Linked DNA regions of Homo sapiens: region 2 is linked to region 1. The links are contacts of gene promoters, found by promoter capture Hi-C in human tissues and cell types (Jung and others, 2019). All regions are on one chromosome and are shown on one strand. The core of a region is centred on a gene start or on the middle of the fragment in contact, and the rest is flanking DNA. Distances in the headings are between cores, read along the strand shown.

Evidence for each region. Contacts are between HindIII fragments. The study calls those that stand out against the background at their distance.
Region 2: a fragment that was not itself captured here is called in contact with the fragment with the promoter of ZNF280B in region 1 in 2 of the 25 tissues and cell types used here (dorsolateral prefrontal cortex and mesenchymal stem cells).

What each region holds. Positions count from the first base shown.
Region 1 is chr22:22,505,933-22,512,516 of GRCh38, forward strand. ZNF280B (zinc finger protein 280B) reads right to left here and starts at 2,810. Exons shown (of 4, transcript NM_080764.4): 1 at 2,727-2,810; 2 at 1,878-1,938. It also overlaps IGL. The HindIII fragment of the contact is 18,670 bases long and covers 1-5,192 here.
Region 2 is chr22:23,119,210-23,125,793 of GRCh38, forward strand. The region is part of intron 4 of RSPH14 (radial spoke head 14 homolog); the gene reads right to left. It overlaps GNAZ (G protein subunit alpha z), which reads left to right. Exons shown (of 3, transcript NM_002073.4): 3 at 3,878-5,823. The coding sequence ends at 4,222. Among named protein-coding and RNA genes, the nearest start is that of RSPH14, 19 kb to the right of the region's middle. RefSeq lists an enhancer at 2,803-3,304. The HindIII fragment of the contact is 8,271 bases long and covers 1-6,584 here.

The DNA.
Region 1 (6,584 bases), core at 1,560-4,059:
GCAGAAGACAAGAAGCTACTGAAATATTATGAACAAAAGATGATGGTAGTATCAGACAGGATGGAGAAATAGAGATACTAAGAAGTCGGACTCTAGATAAAAATCTAGAAGGCCCACAAGGTTCATTGATGGATTGGGTTTGGGATGTGAAGGAGAGGAGGAGGACACACAAGAGGTAATGCTGAGCAGGTAAATCTATGAGATCAGAGCCCAAGGAAAGTTCCGAGGTAGGTACTTAAATTTTGAAGTCTTCAGTATGTAGCATTATTTAAAACACAAGACTGGATGAGATCACTCAGGGAAAAGAGGTCTGAGATCTAAGCTCTGGAGCATTCCATTGATTAGAGGTCATGGAGATGAGAAGGAGCTGGTAAAGGAAATTAAAAAAAAAACAATTATTCACAGCCATTCAGGTGGGAGGAGAATTGAGAAAGAGAAGCATCCCAGAATCCAATGGGGAGGAGAAAAGGAACTGTAATATATGCTGCCAATAGATCAAATAAAATCACGAAAATCAACTAAAACTGACCAATGGATTAAGCAAAGTGGAATTCATTGGTGACCTTGACAGCAGTGGGTTTAAGGAAGAACGAGAACAGGAGATAGCAAATACGGACAACTCTGGAGAAATTTTCCTGTAAGGACAAGCAAATACAAATTAAAACAAGCAGATGGGAGATGTGGCATCAAAAACGAGATCTTTAAGGTGAGGTGATGGTACAATCAGTATGTTTGCTATATTAATGATCTGGAGAGATAGAAAACTTAACCCTAGACAAAGAGAAGTCTTGCTAGAATAATATCCTTAAATAAACAAGTGCACATGTAGAGGTTCTGGCCTTAGCAAGAAGTCAAATTATTCACCCAGAGTAACAGGACAATGCTTTGAGATCCTATGGAAAAGGGTTAAATGGTGGATAAATGGTTGCGGTGGCCATCCTCCAAGATGGCCCTAAATGAATCCCACTTCCTGGAATTCACATAGTTGTAGCCCTCTCCCACTAACAGGGTTGGCCTGTGGGATCAAGCACATACAGCAGGAAGTGATGGTATGCCACTTCAGAAATTAGGTCATAAAGACTCTGCCCTTCATCTTGGGTACAAGGTCTCTTGAATCATTTGCTCTGAAGTAAGCCAGCTGCTGTGACATGAACAGCCCCATGGAGAGGCCCACAGAGCAAGGAACTGAGGCCTCTTGCCAACAGCCCAGTGAGTGAGCTTAGAGGCAGATGATCCAAACCAAGTCAATTCCGCAGAGACTGACAATCCAGCCAAGGGTTTCACTGAAACCTCATGAGTGACCTTGAGCCAGAAACAGCCAGCTAAGCCACTCTTGGATTCCAGACCTTCAAAAACTATGAGGTAATAAATTTTTTTTTAAACTACTAAGTTTTGAGACAATTTGTTACACGGCAATAGATAACTAATACAATGGGTCTCACTGAGCTGTAATCACAAATTGCTGGGCACACAATTCACTATAATCTCACCTACTGGCATGCAATGACTTCAGATGACCTCCCCTGTCCTGCTGCATGCAGTTACCTCATGAAATACAGTCGCTGAGAAAGAGGGTAGGATAAAAGGAGTCAGCTTTATATAACTTAACATCCCTGATGCTCTTTTTTTTTTTTTCAAGAGATGTGGTAAAAGAATGCCACTACCACCCTCTCCTTTCTCAACAAAGCAATTTAGAGGGTTCCCGAATGACCTACATCAACAATTGGCCTGAACTAATCAAACACATCATTCAGATTCCCTCAGTAAAATATTGAATACCAAACAGCTATGTTTCAGCAAAGGAAAGGGCAGGGGAGCGAAACTGAAGGACGAAAATACAACTTTGGTCCTCATCAGGGAGACTTCTCTTTTCTTACCTCAGGTTTATTACAACGCAACTTTTAAGAACTTGAGCTATTCCAGGCAGAAGGTCACATCCTTGAGGTAACCAGAGAGAAGCATTAGTTACTTACATGTCACAAGAATATTTTCGATCCCACTGCCTGACATTGCCATTTAGGTGTTTATCAATCATCTCACACTTAACCAGATAAGTGAACTGAACTCCTTTCCCCCAGATCTGTTCCTCCAATCTACCCTACCTTAGCAAAGGAAAACGTCCCACCCGCCAACTGCCCAAATCAAAAGCCTGCAAATCACCCGAGGTCCTGGCTCTCACGGGAGGGACTCCATTAGGGTCCCAGGGGCTGCATTAAGAGTCCCGACAGCGACGCAGTAAATGAGACAAGACGCTGCGGTAGGGGAGAGAGACCCATACATTCAAATGCCTTAAGGGGTCTGGGCCTACAGGTCTCCAGAACTGGGGAGGGCCTGGGGTTACAAAGCAGTTTTCAGATTTTTAAATACATTGAGCGCCAAAAGAGACCCCGCGGGGGCGATGGGGGAGGGGAGCGCACTGGGAGCCAGGAAAGGCCCCTTCTCCAGGAGGCCCGGGCCCAGCCCGGGGGTGGGGGCGTCTGCGTGAGGGAGTGGAGGCTGATGTAAAAGTGGCGCCCGCTGAGATTAGGGAAGGGGGTGTGCGTGAGGGGATCGTGGGACCTGCTTCTGCCCTGCACTCCCCCACAGAAAGCGGCTGTATTGCAAAGGCCGCTCCGGCAGCGCACGGCCAAGCGCGGTGTCGCGACCCGCAGGGCTGCGGCTCGCCATGAAATCCCTCAAGTCTCCCCTCAGGGAACGCTGAAGCCGCGCCACGCCCCCGTCCTTACCAGTCCGGATCAGCTGCTGTTCGCGAGCTGCCGGCCACGCACCAGCCCCGGAGGCGCTCCCGGGGCACAGCCGGCGGCGACTACGCCTCCTCAGGCCCCCGGCGCCGCCGACGCGCACGCCTCCACACGCGCGCGTCCAGTGGAGACCTGCGATTGGCTGCCAGGTGCCGGCGCGAGATCGGCGCGGCTCCGAGCTAGGAGCATGCGCGCGCTCTGACGCCCCTGGTGGCGACGGCTGGACGCGGGGTTAAATTGAGAAGGAGGAGGGCAGCAGCAATACCCCTGAGGCCTTGAAAGGATCTTGGGTTCCGGATCACGGTTCCAGGCAGTCAGGGTTCCAGAGCTGAGGGGGTATCCAAGCAGTCAGGGTTCCAGAGCTGAGGAGCATCCAGGCAGTCAGGGTTCCAGAGCTGAGGGGCACCCAGGCAGTCAGGGTTCCAGAGCTGTCGCAGCCAGGGCTTGGGGTGGGGGGTAGGCTTCCAGTCCATCAGGGGATGGTTTGCCCACCAGAAGGCCAGCTGTTATAATTCTCAGGTGTGGTCCCTTTGTTGACTATCCATGCTTAAGGGATTGTGAGGAAACAACTGAACCTAACATCTGTCCTCTTCTAGTTACATCTGGGGCCAGTTGAATCCAGCCTGCCACCTGTTTTTGTACAGCTGGCAGCAAGCTAAGAACCGATTTCACGTTTTTTTAATGGCTAAAAAGAGAATATTTTGTGGCATGTGAAAATTATATGAAATTCAAAATTCAGTGTCCATAAATAAAGTTTTATTGGAACAACAAACATGCCCATTCCTTTCGGTATTATTTATGCCTGTTTTCCTGCTTCAACAGCAAAGTTGATTAATTGCCAGAGACCATGTATGAAAAGCTTAAAATATTTACTGTCTGGCCCTTTACAGAAAGTTTGCCCACTCAGTTTACTTGCAGCTTTGATTTTTTTTTTGAATTGACCAATTCTGCCAAAAGTCTATTTTAGCAATCTTTTTGGGGGGCGGGTAAATCGCTTTTGGTTTAATTAATCTATAATGTTATTTTCTTATCTATTTTATCTATTTCTTCCATTCTGTTATTTTCTTCCTTCGTGACTTCATAGGCTTGTTCTGTTACTTCTCATTACAACTTTTGGAGAAAAATGCCTACCTCGTTTGCTTGTAAACTTTTTTGTTTCTCTTGTATTTAATGCTATAAATTTACCTTTAAGTACCAGTTTAACTGTGTCTCACCAGTCCGCTTGGTAATATGTTCATTATCCTTCAATTAGATATGTCCTAATTTTGCTAGTTGTTAGAAATGCTTGTTCCCTGGTGCCGCAAAGAAATAGCACTTGAACATAAATTTAATTTTCTCAGCAAGGCCATTTTCACTTTCTGCAGAAAGGGTACACTCGCCAGCAGTTTTGCCACGAGAGTACCCCAAACAAAGGATACAGGGTTATTTATAACCTGACGCATCCACCCTACTGCTGTGTCCGGTTTCCATTGGCTGGAACAGGACCTCACATTCTGTGTTTGTCCCGATTGGCTAACAACTTAGAACTTTCTAAAAGAGGCAAAGGCAGAGGAGAACAAAGGAAGGAGGATGTAACTTGTAGAATGCTGAGAAAGGTAAAAACACCTCCAAATAGGAAGAGGAACAGGCTATGACCTAATGCTTGCTTGGACCAGTATAAGCATGCAAGGGCAAATATTTAGGCTAAATTGTGGGAGCTAAGAACACAAAGTATATTAATTTCTTTATTACGGCTAGCAGATATCTAAGAATGTTAGCACAGGTCTTTGAATAAATTTTACTTCTAAGAGAAGTTACTATTTATTCGTAATTAGACAGGGAGGAAAGTCTTTGAAGAGGAACCTCTATTTTTTACATAGTGATTCTTTCTAACACAAGGGTTATATAGTATATGTTATTTATTTTTGAAATCTATGAGATTTTTAAAAGATTTTTTAATTGTATTATAATCAAATCACATGGCCTAAATATTACTCACCCTTGCATTTGAAGATTTCTGTTCAGTGAAGTGTACCATAGTCAAAATGAAGAGATCATAGATGTAAAGAAGATATTTGCAGTATCTAAAATGTATATATGAGGCTGATATGTAAAGATATTTGCATTATCTAAAATGTATATATGAGGCTGATATGTAAAGAAGATATTTGCAATATCTAAAATGTACGTAAGAGGCCTGGCACGGTGGCTCACACCTGTAATCCCAGCATTTTTGGAGACCAAGGCAGGCAGATCACTTGAGGTCAGGAGTTCAAGACCAGCCTGGCCAACATGGTGAAACCCCATTTTTGTACAAAAAATACAAAAATTAGCTGGGTGTGGTGGCACGCGCCTGTAGTCCTAGCTACTCGGGAGGCTGAGGCATGAGAACTGTTTGAACCTGGGAGGCAGAGGTTGCAGTGAGCTGAGATTGCACCACTGTACTCCAGCCTTGGGCAACAGAGCGAGACTCCGTCTCAAAAAATAATAACATGAAAAATAAATCTATGAGAAATGATCTTCTTTTGGCTTCATAATAATTCCAATGTCCATCAGTAAATTAGTATCAACTAAGCTCCAGGCTTTATTCAAATGTCACTAGTTTTTCCCATCATCCTTTTTGTTCCAGATTCCCACCCAGGATACTGAATTGTACTTGGTCATTTTGTGTTCTTAGCCTTCTGTGGTCTGTGACAGTTTCTTAAACTTTTCTTGCTTTTCATGACCTTGACAATTTTAAGAAGTAAAGGTCAGGTATTTTTCAGAGTGTCTCTCAATTTAGGTTTGATGTTTTTCTCATGGTTACACTGGGGTTATGGTTTTTAGAAGACTATCACAGACATGATGTGTCTTTCTCATAATTTCTCATCAGCGATCCATGCTATCAATAAGACTTCCTACTGGCTTCTCCGCTGTAAATTACTTCCCCCCCCTTTCATACCTTATTCTAAATCTTGCCTACATGCAGGAAGGCCGTGAGGTCTCATTGAAGGAAAATTATCTACACAAGTTACTTTGCAATTCTTCTTTAAGGAAGATTTGTCTCTTCTTCCTTTAGTTTTAAATTAATCAAAAATAGCTTTTTAGTTTTAAATTAATCAAAAATAAAATAAAAAATTTAGTACCTCAGTCATACTTGCCACATTTCAACAGATCAATAGTCACCTGTAGCATATTGGACAGAGCAGAAGTAGAGCATTTTCATCATTGCAGAAAGATCTACGGACAGCACTGACTTAGATCATTAGTCAACCTTTCTTCTTCCCAAATATATGCATTTAGAAATATAAATTCCCATGAAATGCTTTAGTTCCATCCCATAAATTTTGTGGCTGTTTTCAATATCTTTCAGTTCAACATTTTCCTTTTTTCACTGCAATTTCTTAGAGGAGCTATGGGTTATTCAGAATGAGGACCAGGACTGGGGTGAGATAAGCAAGGAGGCTGAGGCACATTAAGGAGAGACCCACGCCCAGCTTCAGGTATGGCATATTGTCACCTTAGGTTCCCTGCTTGCCTCACCCTAGTCCCAGCCCTGTTTAGAAATGTATTGCCTAATTTAGGAACTTTGGGTTTTTTTTCAGTGATCTTTCTGTTACTGATTTGTAAGTTGATTCCCGTGTACTCAGTGGGTAACTACAAAGAGCCCCACAGCTAACATCACAATTAAAGTAAACTATTCTACCTGAGTTTGAGACCAAGAAAAGCACACCCATGAAAGCCACTTCAATTCGCAAAGCATTTGGAATAGCCAAGGCAATTTTGAACACCAAAGTTGGAGAAATGAAACTACCACACGGAGGATTATGCAAAGCTACAATAATTAAGATACTGCAGCATTAGCACAAGGATAGAGAACAGGAC
Region 2 (6,584 bases), core at 2,636-5,135, 610 kb after region 1:
AGGCTCCCGAGGTCACCAGGCAAGCACCAGGGCCCAGGCTGGGCACTAGGTCAGAGGACAAGACTGGGCTTCTGGCCTGGCAACACCTTTCCCCACTGCCTCCTCTGCAGTTGATCTTTCAGACCCAAATATGAGGCTCTTCTCTAGGTTTGGCCTCCTCTCATCAACTTCAGCTGGTCAGGGTCCTGACTTTGTAACCGTCTGTGGTTCTTCAGCCTCCCGCTCTGTCTTGTCCCCCATCTCTGAGAGCTGCAGGCCTCTGGTCTAGGAACAAACCCACGATGCAGCTCCTGCCTCACTTGCTGGTCCATCAGCACCACACTGCCAGCACCACACTGTCCCATGCTGGGCCCTCTGACCTTCTTTATAGCCTTCCTGTTCTATAAAGATTACAGGATGGGCACCCACCATCTCCTAAGCTTCACCTCCTACTAGGGTGGAGCCCATGTGCAGTGAAGGCTCAGCCTGCGTCAGGGACGCTGGGATGGAGTGAGGCGGCAAGCTCAGGTGCTTCCCACGCTCTGAAGCTTCCTGTCTGAGCCCGGAAGTGAGGTATGTGGTTGGTGCCTCCTGCAGGCTTTCCTGACTCCTGCCAGACAGGGCCCAGCCAAGAAACAAGACCAGGAAACCAGGCGTCTACACAGAGATTTTGTTATTATTTGAGGCCCATCATCTCCTCGGTGCCCACTAAATATTAGTCAGTGTGGTTCCCATGGTTTGTCTCAAGGAATAGAGGAAACCAGGAAGCCTGAGCCTGAAATGCCTGCAAAGCAAGGGGAGTCCTGGGCACAAGCAGGGGCCTGAGCTGAGGGAAGGGCCCACACTCGGGAGATGTTTGTCTGTCCTGATGAGGCTGCCGCAGTGGCGGAATCCTGATAAGAGTGTACTGTGAGGCACCGTGCCCACCTCCAGCTGCCTTGTGAGATAAGTACCTGAGTTTCCATGACCTCTAAGTCAGGAACAGGAGGCTCAAAGAGGTGTCCAGGGTCCCCAAGGTCCACTGAGAGGCATCAGCAGGGAAGCAGTTTAGACACCATGGAAGGGGCTCCTAGTGCATTGGGACAGCTTGACTCACCCCAGGACTCACGGGGGCCACAGTCAGGAGTGTTTCATGGCGTTGGACAAGAAGAGTGGCTGCCTTGGCCTTGGAGAGAGGGGGTCCACGTGGTCTATCGGCCCCTCCCACTGCTGCCAGCTGAGCTCTCCCTACACACAGGTGCCCTGCAGAGGACCAGTCTGGTTTAGATCTGAGGCTTCAGATGACCAGTACACGTGAACTGTTTCCGCATCAGTGAGGTGGCCCTCCTGCTCCTCCTCTTACCTAAATTCCACTGCCTGCCCAGGAGGTGATGGGCTAAGCTGGGTATTAAAACCATCTCAACTGTCATCCCCAAGTGACCCATCAGGGCTCAGAGAGGCAGACCCAGGCCTAGCACCCACTCTGTGCTTGTCCCCTCACCCTTGAACCCCCAGGTCCATACCCTGCTGGTGGCCAGATCACGCCCTTCCCAACCCCGGAGGAAGCCCCCTACCCCAAAAGGACCCTGCCATCCCTGCCTGGCTCTATTCCTGCAGCCCCAGGACTCCCACCTCAAGCTCCATCACCTGGCATGAGAGCTGATGTGGACTCAGGGCGCGCTCAGCAAGTGTTTGCTCAGTAAATTAATAATACGTGCTAATGGTCATATCTGTTATTTAACTGATGCAAAATTTGGGGTCAGAAGCATAGCCCCCAATTACAGCATCATTTCTATGAGAAATGACAGCTCTGTTACCACAGTCCTCTATGATGTGGCTTCCAGGAATCCATTAGAGCTAATTACTCCCTCAGCAGAATGTGACATTCCTAGACCACCACTTATCTCACATTTGGGAATGTGCAGCCAGGTTCACTGCGGAGGCGCTGGCTCCTCTCTGCTCTGCTGGGGATGAGATCTTGTGTGTTGCTTGTCTCTGCAGAAAGGCCAGCACCCCCATCCCCAGACCTGAGGCTGCTCACTCCTCAGGACTCCTGTTATTCCGAAGCTCATTCTAAAGAAAGAGCAAGATTGGTTTGGAAAAACAGTCTTCCAGGTGGAGTGCAGGGTTCCAGGGTAATGACGGGTACCTCTGGGTATCCTTCCTTTCTCTGCACAGATGCTGCCAGAGCTGTTCCTCAGAGAACTCAGGGGCTCTGGAGAGCAGGGTTTCTATGCAGCATCCTCCTGGGCACCCCTGCCCTCAGGCAGCCTCCTTTGGGCCCACCCTGTAGGAGCAGCAAGCCAGAGCACCTGGTTGTGGGGCTTGGAGCACATATCCTGCCTCTCTGTGCCTCAGTTTCTTCATCTGTAAAACAGGAGTGGGCAGATGTGAGAACAGACTGGCAGCTCGTGTCCAGCTGTGGTTACCAGCGTCATTGTCACTGCAGTCATTGGTGATGCTGTTGCTTCGTGCCTGAGTCATCACTACCAGCTGCAGTTACCACTTGCATTACCACGGTCACTGGTGATGTAGTCTAGTCAGAAAAGTTCCTTTTTTTTTTTTTTTTTTTGAGACAGAGTCTCGCTGCGTCGCCCAGACTGGAGTGCAGTGGCATGATCTCGGCTCACTGCAACCTCCACCTCCCGGGTTCAAGTGATTCTCCTGCCCCAGCCTCCCAAGGAGCTGGGATTACAGGTGTCTGCCACCATGCCCAGCTAATTTTGTTGTTGTTGTTTTATTTTTAGTAGAGATGAAGTTTCACTGTGTTGGCCAGGCTGGTCTTGAACTCCTGACCTTGTGATCCACCTGCCTCAGCCTCCTAAAGTGCTGGGATTACAGGTGTGAGCCACGGCGCCTGGCCAGAAAAGTTCTTAAATCCAAAGCATCAGATCTAAGCCAGATTGGTTCCAGATTTTTGATATTTTGCTCATTGAGTTTATCTTAGAAGCAGGGGTAGCTTTTGCCAGCAGCAAATTCCAGGTAGTTACTCCTTTTAGAAGTTAGAATTTATTCATTTTGCAGGGAAGTGGTGAACTGGGGAGTCAGACAAGAGCATCATGCTTCTTAAAAGCCCAGACCCCTGGCTATAACACATCGAAGATTCTCAGAAGAGAATTGAGGAGCGGACAGGCGCCACACTCCGTTGTGGTCACTGCCTCTTCCTGGCCCACCACACTCCTGTCCTCTGCATGTACTGAGAGCTCTGTCCAGGATGCCAGGGTCCTGCCTCGGCAGAGAGGCGGTGCCAGATGCCCCACAGCAGCTGGTGGGAGTGCCCACAGCTGGAGGGCAGGGGAGGAGCCTGGCCTCTGGCTGGTGTTTCCTTCCCAGCTCTCAAGAACTGGAGACTTTGGTTACAGAAGTGAAGGCTGCTCCCTCACAGACTTCCTAGTGTCCGATGGTACCACATGGAAGGATCAGAGTTTTGAAGGACTGGGCCAGAACCCAGATAGGGCACAAGGCTGCCAGCGCCTGCATTGAGGGAGCTATGATGTGACGGGGGCTCCTGCAGAAGATGGCCTTCCTTGTACAGGTGTGGGGCAGCCTGTGGATGGGCAGTGGGAAGATGGGGGGTCCTCGGAGCTGGAGGTGCCCAGCGGTTTAGGAGGCTGTGCTTGGCACATCTGTAGCCCCAAAGCTATATGTTGAGATCACTGGCACCCAGAGGAGAGACCCAAAAGGGGCAAGAGAACATCTTCCAAGCACTTGCCACTGGCAAGGAGGGTGCTGCCGGCTATTTCCGTGGGAGGTGGGTGAAGACATTTAACCTGGGCTTCCCCAGCAGAAGGAGGTGCCATTGCAGGGACCAGTCTTGGGCTGAGACCCTAGCAAAGGCTTCCTCTGGCAGGGCTGCAGGTCTAGGGTCTGTCTCTGCCTGCTGCGGGCCTGATTAACGCCAGTACTTTCCTTTCCCCAGAGTCGGATGGCAGAGAGCTTGCGCCTCTTTGACTCCATCTGCAACAACAACTGGTTCATCAACACCTCACTCATCCTCTTCCTGAACAAGAAGGACCTGCTGGCAGAGAAGATCCGCCGCATCCCGCTCACCATCTGCTTTCCCGAGTACAAGGGCCAGAACACGTACGAGGAGGCCGCTGTCTACATCCAGCGGCAGTTTGAAGACCTGAACCGCAACAAGGAGACCAAGGAGATCTACTCCCACTTCACCTGCGCCACCGACACCAGTAACATCCAGTTTGTCTTCGACGCGGTGACAGACGTCATCATACAGAACAATCTCAAGTACATTGGCCTTTGCTGAGGAGCTGGGCCCGGGGCCCGCCTGCCTATGGTGAAACCCACGGGGTGTCATGCCCCAACGCGTGCTAGAGAGGCCCAATCCAGGGGCAGAAAACAGGGGGCCTAAAGAATGTCCCCCACCCCTTGGCCTCTGCCTCCTTGGCCCCACATTTCTGCAAACATAAATATTTACGGATAGATTGCTAGGTAGATAGACACACACACATGCACACACACACATCTGGAGATGGCAAAATCCTCTAAAATGTCGAGGTCTCTTGAAGACTTGAGAAGCTGTCACAAGGTCACTACAAGCCCAACCTGCCCCTTCACTTTGCCTTCCTGAGTTGGCCCCACTCCACTTGGGGGTCTGCATTGGATTGTTAGGGATAGGCAGCAGGGCTGAGGCAAGGTAGGCCAACTGCACCCCTGTCGCCTGGAGGAGGGCCAGCTCGCTGCCCGAGCTCTGGCCTAGGGACCTTGCCGCTGACCAAGAGGGAGGACCAGTGCAGGGTCTGTGCACCTTCCCTGCTGGCCTGCACACAGCTGCTCAGCACCACTTTCATTCTGGACCTGGGACCTTAGGAGCCGGGTGACAGCACTAACCAGACCTCCAGCCACTCACAGCTCTTTTTAAAAAACAGCTTCAAAATATGCAGCAAAAACCAATACAACAAAACGAGTGGCACGATTTATTTCAAACTAGGCCAGCTGGGATTCCAGCTTTTCTTCTACTAGTCTGATGTTTTATAAATCAAAACCTGGTTTTCCTTCTCTGACATTTTTTTTTTGTTTTGTTTTTTGGTTTTTTTTTTTTTTTGGCCAAATCTCGTGGTGTTTCGCAGAAAAAAATCCAGAAAATTTCAAATGCAGTTGAGTATTCTTTTTTAAATGCAGATTTTCAAAACATATTTTTTTTCAGGTGGTCTTTTTTGTGTCTGGCTTGCTGAGTGTAAAAGTTGTTATCTGGACGATCTGTCTCTCTGCTCCAAAGAAATTTTGGAGTGAGTGGCAGTCCTGCGCCAGCCTCGCGGGACACGTGTTGTACATAAGCCTCTGCAGTGTCCTCTTGTTAATGGTGGGGTTTTCTGCTTTGTTTTTATTTAAGAAAATAAACACGACATATTTAAAGAAGGTTCTTTCACCTGGGAGCAAATGAACAATAGCTAAGTGTCTTGGTATTTAAAGAGTAAATTATTTGTGGCTTTGCTGAGTGAAGGAAGGGGAGCAAGGGGTGGTGCCCCTGGTCCCAGCATGCCCCGCGCCTGAGACTGGCTGGAAATGCTCTGACTCCTGTGAAGGCACAGCCAGCGTTGTGGCCTGAGGGAGGCCCTGCTGGGACCCTGATCTGGGCCTTCCTGTCCCAGGGCCTATGGGCAACTGCGTTGAAAGGACGTTCGCCAAGGGCCGTGTGTAAATACGAACTGCGCCATGGAGAGGAGAGGCACTGCCGGAGCCCTTGCCAGATCTCCCTCCCTCTCTCCGTGCAGTAGCTGTGTGTCCGAGGTCAGTGTGCGGAATCACAGCCAAGGACGTGAAGAGATGTACGGGGGAAAGAGAAGCTGGGGATTGGATGAAAGTCAAAGGTTGTCTACTTTAAGAAAATAAAATACCCTGAATGGAGCCCAGCATTGTCCCAGTGTGCTATGTGTGTAGCTGACCTGTGGCTGGACTTGGTGCCATCTGGAAGGGCAGCCGGGGACACCTCCATTCTGAGGTCCCATATTCCAAACCCCACCCCTATACCTCCACACATTTAGGTAGAGTCATTTTGCAATGAACATCACAAATAAACATCACGAGAGGAAAGAAACTGCAAAGAGGGGAAACCTGCCAGGTCCATGCAGTCCTGGTGTGGAGGTCTGGGGGTGATGATGACTCCTGCCCCTCCCGCTGCCCCCAAGACCCCACCCAACACTGACCCAGGCTGTGCCATACCCTGGACCCCTCCCACCATGTGGACACCTCAGCCAATGTCAGAGTCATCCTGCAGAGTGGAAGAGGTGCCCTGAGGGCCTGGAGGGTTCCTGTGCCCCCAGTAGTGTAGGGCAAACCTTGTAGGGTTTTGGAGAGGAGGGGTCCCTGAGCATGCAGTGCTCGCTGACTGGCTTGTGTGGTTAGAGGTATCTGGATATAGTGGAAAAGTGCCGATCAGAAGTCAACGGAGTGCATTCACCGAGGGCCTGCTGCGAACCAGGCACGGAGCCGGGCTCCTTACTAATGATTTTATGTAACACCCCACCTCAGCAGGTTGCCAGAGGTGCCCATTTTACAGATGAGGAAAGGTGCCTGAGGTCAGGGAGCAGTCAAGCCAGGATTCACCAGGCCAGGGAGCTGTTGCTCCCACTGGAGGAGCAGAGACGCTGATCTTTCCTCCTGCTGGA